2 separate regions of the Homo sapiens genome follow, and region 2 is linked to region 1. Evidence: promoter capture Hi-C in 16 types of primary human blood cells and fetal thymus (Javierre and others, 2016). All regions are on one chromosome and are shown on one strand. Each heading gives the region's core, a stretch centred on a gene start or on the middle of the fragment in contact. The rest is flanking DNA. Distances are from core to core; before and after follow the strand shown.

Region 1 (4,571 bases), core at 1,198-3,697:
GAATCACCTGAGCCGGGGAAATCAAGATTACAGTGAGCCATGATTGTGCTACTCACTGCACTCTAGCCTAGGCAACAGAGTGAGACTCTGTCTCTAAAATAAAATAAATAAAATAAAATAAAAGCTTAGGCTATAAAAAACAAAATTTCTATTAACATGGTCTTACTAAATACATATTGTAGGCCGGGCGTGGTGGCTCATGCCTGTAATCCCAGCACTTTGGGAGGCTGAGGCGAGTGGATCACTTGAGGTCAGGTGTTCGAGACCAGCCTGGCCAACATGGTAAAACCCTGTCTCTACTAAAAATGCAAAAATTAGCCGGGCGTGGTGGCAGACACCTGTAATCCCAACTATTGCAGAGGCTGAGGCAGGAGAATCACTTGAACCTGGGAGGTGGAGGTTGCAGTGAGCTGAGATTGTGCCACTGCACTCCAGCCTGGGCGACAAGAGCAAAACTCCGTCTCAAAAAAATAAAATAAAATAAATAAATAAATAAAATACATATTGTGTTTTATGTTTAATAAAGGGAATACAGGGAAGCTTTCCCTTTTCCCTTGGAAGGTTCACTGAAAAATCAACTGTCAAATGGCAGACTAATAGGAAAAAAGACATACAAAATTTATTTTAATGTGCATAACACAGGGAGATTTCAGGAGAATGATTACCCAATGACTCAATGGGGTAGAGACGTTTATATACTCTTCTTTATGGGGGAAAGGGAGATTGGGGAAATGTGGCAACTTAAGGTATAGTAAAGGACTTTTAGGGGAAAATGGGGAACATACAATGGCCTGGGAAAAAGTGTGTTGAGCCCATACAGCAGACAATAGTTTGTGACAAAAGTCTGTCCAAGAGTGTTGACAGACTTCAGTCTTTCTTCCTCCAATATGAGTTAAGTAAATGAAAAATCAGGTAAGGCAAATATGTTCCTCTTTGGCAGGTCTAGTTTCTAGGCAGATAAGGGAAATTCAGAGAACGACATCATTTGGTGCTTTGGGAGAGACAAAGAATTGAGAGGCAGGAGGGGTAATGGGGAAGGTAAGAGACACCTTGAAGCTGCTTCCTCAGTTCAGCGCGGCAAAGCACCATATTTTGGGGTATCGATTTCTGAGTCCCAACAATTTTTACATCACGTTCCAGACACATTTTATGACTTTTCTTCACTGCATACTTCTTTAAAACTCATCTTACTCTATTTTTCTAAAGGTATTTGCATTAAATGTGCAAAATACTAATGCTCTAAAGAGGAATATTTTGAAATATTAAGAATTATTTATATTTCAATGTAAAAAATGTGATTTTTTTTCTAGAAATAAAATTTCAAATTCAAATAGTTGCTTTGGGGTTTTTATAGAAGATGCATATATATATACAGATATATATATGTTCATTTCTATTAAAATCAATGTGCTAATGTTCATATGTGTTAATATTAATAAAGGTCCTAGGATTAAATTTATTCTGAAATAGACTCCTAGGATTGTGAAAGTTTGAGGTTAGTCTGGCAAAAGACACATTTAGGGGAATATCTTTCTTTAAAAAAAATTTTGTTTTTTTGCTGTCTCTTGATCTCCCGCCTCACACATTCCACTTTATTGACATTATAGAAAAATTAATTCATTTCAACAGCACTTTTACTTGCATTGCTTTTTTTTTTTTTTTTTTTTTTTTTAGACGGAGTCTTGCTCTGTCGCCAGGCTGGAGTGCAATGGCACAATCTCAGCTCACTGCAACCTCCGACTCCCGGGTTCAAGCAATTCTCCTGCCTCAGCCTTGCGAATAGCTGGGATTGGTGGCACGCACAACCACGCCCAGCTAATTTTTGTATTTTTAGTACAGACGGAGTTTCACCATGTTGGCCAGGATGGTCTCGACTCCTGACCTCGTGATGCGCCCGCCTCAGCCTCCCAAAGTGCTGGGATTACAGGCGTGAGCCACCGCGCATGGCCACTTGCACTGCTTTTTAGCAGCGAGCTCTCAGGTCAATCAACTGCTTCCTTAGGTTTACAAACTGTGGGTGTGTATTTATAAACACAGTTGTTTTGTATATCCTTTGTAGAGCACGTGGTGAAAGTGACACAGGAATAAATGCAAACCTTTTTTTCCCCTTCTTTTTTCAAAGACATAAATCCCAGGAACACTCACAACCGCAGAAGGGGATTTGATGGACATACAAAGAAACTAAATTTTGTACCGCCGCAGAAGTGAAGCATGGATAAGCTCAAAGGTATTTAGGCAGTGTTTTATTTCAAGATTTGTTATGGGGACCTCCGCCACGCCCTGGTCCGCCTTCACCAGGCCGGGCAACACTGCCCAGTCCCTGAGACCCGGCCGCCCACTAGGGAGCCGCGGGGGCGAGGCCGTGGGGGTGGCCTCGGGGAGGAGGTCCCGAGAACCACACTTCCCAGAGTGCCGTGCGCAGCCCCGCCCAGCCCGCCCCGCCCCCAGAGGCCGCGGCTCGCGGGGGCTGAGGCGAGAGGACGCCAAGCGCCCGCCGGGGCTCCGCGGGGCCGCGCAGGAGAGCGCGCGTCCGCCGGGTGCTCGCGCGGGGTTGGTGAGGTTCCGCTGAGGGCGGCCGGGGCTCTGGGAGCGTGGTAACGTGGCTGCAACCTTAGCGACATCAGGAAGAACAGGGTCGAGGATCGAGGTAACGGGACGCTCGTCTCCCCTCAGTCCCCTCGTCTCCCCTCAGTCCCCTCTTCCTTTGTGCGGTGCCGTCCGCTCGCGCCGAGCCCTCCCTCACCCCAGCCCCCAAGTCGCAACACCGTCCCGTCTTGGGTCTCCGGTGTGCGGAGGAAATTCGAGCCCTCGTGCACCAACCGAAACTCCACAGCTGAGAGGGCTTGGGGCCCGGACAGCAGGAGATCCAGCCCCTGAGCAACCTTCCACGGCTTTTGTCGCCCCCATTGGCGGGAGGAGCAGGGTTATGCTCCCGGCTCCCGTAGGGGAGCTCCAGCCTCTGGCTCTGTCAGCCTCCCCGGCAGCTCCTTGACTCCTTCCTCCCAGTCTTTCGAAGAGGGGCCCAGGCAGGTGCTTCGCGGGGTCCAGGAAGAGGGCAGGCGCGGTGCGGCTGGCGCGGGTTCGGGGCCCCGGGAGGGCGGCCGGACGCCCCCTGGAGCCGCGGCCTGCGGGGGCGGGGCGAGTGGGCCACCTCCGGGCCACGCCGCGCGGGGACGAGGCGAGGAAGGCACTGCCTGTCCCCACTCGGGGGGCTTGCTGGCCGCCCTGGAGGTGCCTTCCCGGGAGCGGCGGTGTAGACCTTGTGGAGAGTGCCTCCTGATGTGGAACCAGGAACCGCAGCCTCTTTCTAGACGCTCAGCCGCCCGGTGGAGTTGTTACCGCCACGATGACAGCTCTTTACGCCTTCCACTCCGTGCTGGGTTCAGTTGGCTTGCTGTTTTCTTCAGAGAGAGCGATTTGGCTACATAGCTTGAATTTTCTACGTGTCTCGTGCTTTACTGGACTTGCACTGTTTTTCCCTCTTGGCAGTGTTTAATCGGGTGACTTTTCATAGAAAACGTTCAGTATTTTCATCTGTGTTAATGGCATAACTTTCTTCTTGACTCTGCCCTAAGCTAATGTTACCAGTTTAGAGGGATACTTTGGGAAAAGGTCCTTAGAACCTGGGTTGACATAAGTATTTTATCTGCTGGTTGCACGTTTTTTCCTTTGCATTGTTTTTCTCCTATACAAGATGGTAATTGTTGGACTCTTGGTGTTCTTTATTCTCTCTCTAGAAGGAAATCCTCTTCGCGCATCTTTCTCGTGTTCTGGCCCTGCGGTACTCTTGGGTACGCAGAGGACTGCTGCTAACAGTGCTGGCGCCTGGAACGCTGCTTGGAGATGGCGGTGGCATTAAGCTGCTGCTTTTCCTCAGACTTCCTCCTGGCACCCTTCTTAATTTGTCAAACTGACCCAGTTCAAACTTCAAACTTTTAGTCACTTTATTTATTTCGTCACTTTTTAAAAAAATTGCTTTCAAGATACCAAAATTGCGTAAGCCTAAATATAAAAAGAGGTGTCTCAGGGGCCGGGTGCAGTGGCTCACGCCTGTAATCCCAGCACTTTGGGAGATTGAGGCGGGGGGATCACTTGAGGTCAGGATTTTCGAGACCAGTCTGGCCAACATGGTGAAACCCCATCTCTACTAAAAATAACAAAAATTAGCTGAGCGTGGTGGCACATGCCTGTAGTCTCAGCTACTCGAGAGGCTAAGACAGGAGAATGGCTTGAACCCGGGAGGCGGAGGTTGCAGTGAACCGAGATCATGCCACTGCGCTCCAGCCTGGGCGACAGAGTGAGACTCCATCTCAAAAAAAGAAAAAAAAAGTCTAAGGATACTCTATTCAACTACATATGAGCACTTAGCTTCATCATTTTAATTTTTAAAGCTGCCAATTCTTTTAGCATTTGATAAGATTACTGATAATTGGTTAAGATGATATATTCTGTAATAATTGCACATTTTTTGACAAGAAACTCAGTTCACATTCAGTGAGGGTTATTTTTTAAAAACAGTATTTCTTCATTCATTAAGAAGAAAGTTAGGGCCGGGCGCGGTGGCTCACGCC
Region 2 (4,569 bases), core at 2,016-4,515, 270 kb after region 1:
TACCCCACCTGGACCCCTGTCAGTAGCTGGGACTACAGGTGGCTAATTTTTGTATTTTTTGTAGAGACAGGGTTTAACCATGTTGCCCAGGCTGGTCTCGAATGAATTCCTGGACTCAAGCAGTCTGCCCACCTCAGCCTCTCAAAGTGCTGGGATTACAGGCATTAGCCACCATGCCTAGAAATGATTTTAATAACATTTTCTTTTCTCTAGCTTACTTTATTGTAAGAATACACTACTTAATACATATCAAAATATGTGTTAATCAGCTGTTTATGTTATTCATAAGGCTTCCAGTCAACTGTAGGCTAATTAGTAGTTAAGCTTTTAGGGAGCCAAAAGTCATGTAGATATTTTACCCCTAAACCTCACAGTGTTTGAAGGTTAACTAATACAAACATCAAAATGAATGGAAACTTTATAAAGGAGTATATGCTATATGATTATATTTAAATCAAATTGAAAAGCAGACAAAACAAATGCAGGGTGTTACAAGTCAGAACAGTGATGACTTTTAAGGGAGGTAGTAGCTGAAAGGGGAAAGGAGAGGAGTTCTAGACAGCTGGTCTTAATCTGTTACATGTGTTCACTTTATGAAAATGCACTGAACTAGGCCGGGCACGGTGGCTCACGCCTGTAATCCCAGCACTTTGAGAGGCCGAGGCAGGTAGATCACCTAAGGTCAGGAGTTTGAGCCCAGCCTGGCCAACATGGTGAAACCCCGTCTCTACTAAAAACGTACAAAAATTAGCTGGGCGTGGTGGTGCGCCAGCTACTCGGGAGGCTGAAGCAGGAGAATCGCTTGAACCCAGGAGATGGAGGTTCCAGTGAGCCGAGATCGCGCCATTGCATTCCAGCCTGGGCGACAAGAGCAAAACTCCATCTCAAAAAAAAAAGAAAAAAGAAAAGAAAATGCACTAAACTGTACTAATAATGTCTGCCTTTTTCAGTCTGTTAGACTCCAATAACAATTTTTAGAAAGAACTATTAAAAAGGGGGACGGAAGGAAGGTGAAGAAATATAAGTGAGCTCAAATTCAACAGTGTCAAGTGCCGATAAATCTGGAAGTCACAGAATAAGCTCATTATTTGTAAGAACTAAAACATTGTCTTTGCACATTACATTAATATTCTGTCCACGCTTATGACTTTTGATAGCCCTGAGCAAAGTAAGGGTTCACGTTCAGACTTCAATTTAGTTTGAATGATTAGAGCTGCGTACTCAATACACATCTGTTTCCTTTGCAAATATATCCTAGTCCTGGACCAGTTCCACATGAATTTAATGTTTTTTTCTGGGCAAATAAAAGATTAAATACCTATCATGATTAAACATTTAAACAAGTGAGCTACTGGTGTGTATTAAAAATAGAGCTTTTTAAAGGATATCCCCAAACTTACCACTTGTAGTAGGTACTAAAACTAAAAGGAGCATATTGAGGAGGTGAGGAGCTAGAAATTATGATAAAAGTAACAAATAATAAAAACAGCTCTGTAATTGCTAGAATGTTACTATAAGGGGCAGTTACCCATCCAAACTTAATAACTAGCAAAACAAAAAAAATATGTCATAGAATATAAAGTATCTTTTTTCTTTTTGCTGGGCGCCATGGCTCAGGCCTGTAATCCTAGCACTTTGGGAGGCTGAAGGTGGGGGTGGGTAGTGGGGGTGGAGGGGAACACAAGGTCAGGAGTTTGAGACCAGCCTGGACAATATGGTGAAACCACATCTCTACTGAAAATAAATAAATAAATAAAAAATACAAAATACAAAAAGTAGCCGGGCGTGGTGGTGGGTGCCTGTAGTGCCAGCTACTCAGGAGGCTGAGGCAGGAGAAACGCTTGAACCCGGGAGGCAGAGGGGCCAAGATCACGCCACTGCACTCCAGCCTGAGGGACAGAGTGAGACTCCATCTCAAAAAAAAAAAAAAAAAAAGTTGTGTTTTTGTTTTTTTGTTTTTTTTTACTTTAAGTCCTGGGATACATGTGCAGAACATGCAGGTTTGTTAAACACACGTGCAGAACATGCAGGTTTGTTACATACATGTGCAGAACATGCAGGTTGTATACACATGCTGTGGTGGCTTGCTGTACCTATCAACCCATCATTTAGGTTTTAAGCTAAAACATCTTTTTAATCATGCCAATGATAATACTTTTACCTAATATAATTGATTCATCTACCAGAAATAACACAGGAACCAACATCAGTAACTAAACCTTTTTGAAAAATCACCTCCACGAAAATCTTACAATTAAAATTTAAAATTACTTCAGCTCCTTAAATTTTCACCAGTCTGATATCTACATTCTTATAGGAAGACGTTTTAATAGCCTACAGTAGTCAACTCTAACTGATGAATTCCAAGGGATTCCAATCAAAATGCCAATCATAAATTTTCTAGAAAATGATGAATGACTTCAGAATACACTGAGAAGCATGAGAATGAATAGCTATGAAAATTCTAAAAACAAGAATTACAAAGAATCTGCCTCAATATTATGACATATAAAGATACAGTGAAACAATATGCCACAGTTGCCAAAAGACACATCAATGGAGCAAAAGACAGCCCAACAACAGACCCAAGACTGTGATAAAATTTAGACATAGCATTTGTATCTGTGGAGAAAAGACAGGTGATTTAATAAAAAATGATGAAACAATTGTCTAGCTTTTTGCTTTAAAAAAAAAAAAAAAAAGGTTCCCAGCCAGATGTGGTGGCCCACGCCTGTAATCCCAGCACTTTGGGAGGCCAAGGCGGGCAGATCATGAGGTCAAGATATCGAGACCATCCTGGCCAACATGGTGAAACCCGTCTCTACTAAAAATACAAAAATTAGCTGGGCATGGTGTGCCTGTAGTCCCAGCTACTCAGGAGGCTGAGGCAGGAGAATTGCTTGAACCTGGAGGTGGAGGTTGTAGTGAGCCAAGATCATGCCACTGCACTTCAGCCTGGTGACAGAGGGAGACTCCGTCTCAAAAAAAAAAAAAAAAAAGAAAAAAAGAAAAAAGAAAAAGAAAAAAAAGTTCCCTAACATCCCCCATCTTTACCTTTTCCTATTAATATGAAATGTACAATATATATTCAAGTTAACTACATGTGGATCAAAATACTAAAAAGTCAAAGATGTAAAATGGGTTGCAAGTTAAGAGGGTCAAGCAGCTAACTAAATGTGTGAATCTGGCTGTGCAGAGAACTGTAACGAATTGAAAAGCGTCAGTGCTTTCTCAATTTTTTTTTTTTGTGACATCAAGTCTCTGGGGCAAACGGACAAAGCAGATGATGTCTGCAGGAGGAAATTAGATAGGAGCTCTGGCTGACCTTTAGGCTGGGGGGCGGGGAATCAACATCGTGGCACACCTGAAAAGCATTTGATGGCACACCAATTGGGAAGTTCTGAATTAGAAAGCCTGTGTTCCGCTTAAAAGAGCCGAAGCTATTCAATTCTTTCTGAGCATTGCTATATGACAATGCAAGCCCAGGGTTGCTAAATCTTACATTTTTCATGAGAAGATAGAAGATTGTTATGTAAAAAACACTGGCAGATAATTTCTTTCAGAATTCCGTGACAGGCTAACCAAAACCCATATGTTGACCAGATCTGTCCCACAGTCCACCAGCTTACAAGTTCTGATTTAAATGCAAAAATGAAATCGTACAAGTGCCAGCAAAGAACACATGACATTATTTTCACAATCTTGGAGGAGGAAAGACCTTTCTAAGCACAATCAAGCCAGAACCCATAAAGGACAAGACATTTAACTACATAAAAATGTAAAACGTATGTGTAAACCCAACATTATGAATAAACCTAAAGACAAATGACAACAGCTTTCCCCCAGGCTCTAGCAGAATGTGAACTGCAGCAGCCAGGGTCAACTAACTGTCTTCCCTTTGGTGAGGGGAGAGAGTAAACCAAGTTTAGCAGCCCACAATGATGACCAGGAATTGAATAATTTCCTAAATGAACCAGAAAGGGGGAGAAGTAGGAGAACATTTGGGATGGTCCACAATTGCAGGCACCATCATCTATTCTGTTGCATTATAAATAAGTCTGAGTCTACATTTCTTATAATGTTTTTATTTTTTAGACTAGTGAAATGCAGTAGCAAGAAGTGGGAAAAGAATTCTATTATAAATAGAAATTATGGCTGGGCACAGCGGCTCACGCCTGTAATCCCAGCACTTTGGGAGGCCAAGGCAGGTGGATCACCTGAGGTTAGGAATTCGGGGCCAGCCTGCCAACATGGTGAAACCCCGTCTCTACCAAAAATTAGCCAGGTGTCGGGGCATGCGCCTGTAGTCCCAGCTAATTGGGAGGCTGAGGCAGGGGAATCCCTTGAACCCGGGAGGCAGAGGTTGCAGTGAGCCAAGATCATGGCACTGCACTCCAGCCGGGGCAACAATAGCGAAACTTTGTCTTAAAAAAATAATAATACCTCGGGATGAGACATGGGCAGCATCTGCCTTGTCCGGTGCTGGCCCAAGTCCCATCCCTGCCCTGCTCCCTTTCAGAACTGCACCTACTACTGGGGCTTCGCCGCGTGGATGGCCTATTACATCAA

The links. Contacts are between HindIII fragments. The CHiCAGO score rates a contact against its expected background, and 5 or more counts as called.
Region 2: a fragment that was not itself captured here is called in contact with the fragment with the promoter of KLHL8 in region 1 in 1 of 17 cell types (naive CD8 T cells); the score reaches 5.3 in naive CD8 T cells.

The regions. Positions count from the first base shown.
Region 1 is chr4:87,218,494-87,223,064 of GRCh38, reverse strand. It overlaps KLHL8 (kelch like family member 8), which reads left to right and starts at 2,447. Exons shown (of 10, transcript NM_020803.5): 1 at 2,447-2,647. RefSeq lists silencers at 2,228-2,717, 3,058-3,327 and an enhancer at 2,833-3,445. The HindIII fragment of the contact is 8,812 bases long and covers 543-4,571 here.
Region 2 is chr4:86,950,054-86,954,622 of GRCh38, reverse strand. All of the region lies in intron 2 of AFF1 (ALF transcription elongation factor 1), which reads right to left. It also overlaps the pseudogene TECRP1. Among named protein-coding and RNA genes, the nearest start is that of AFF1, 17 kb to the right of the region's middle. The HindIII fragment of the contact is 5,877 bases long and covers 327-4,569 here.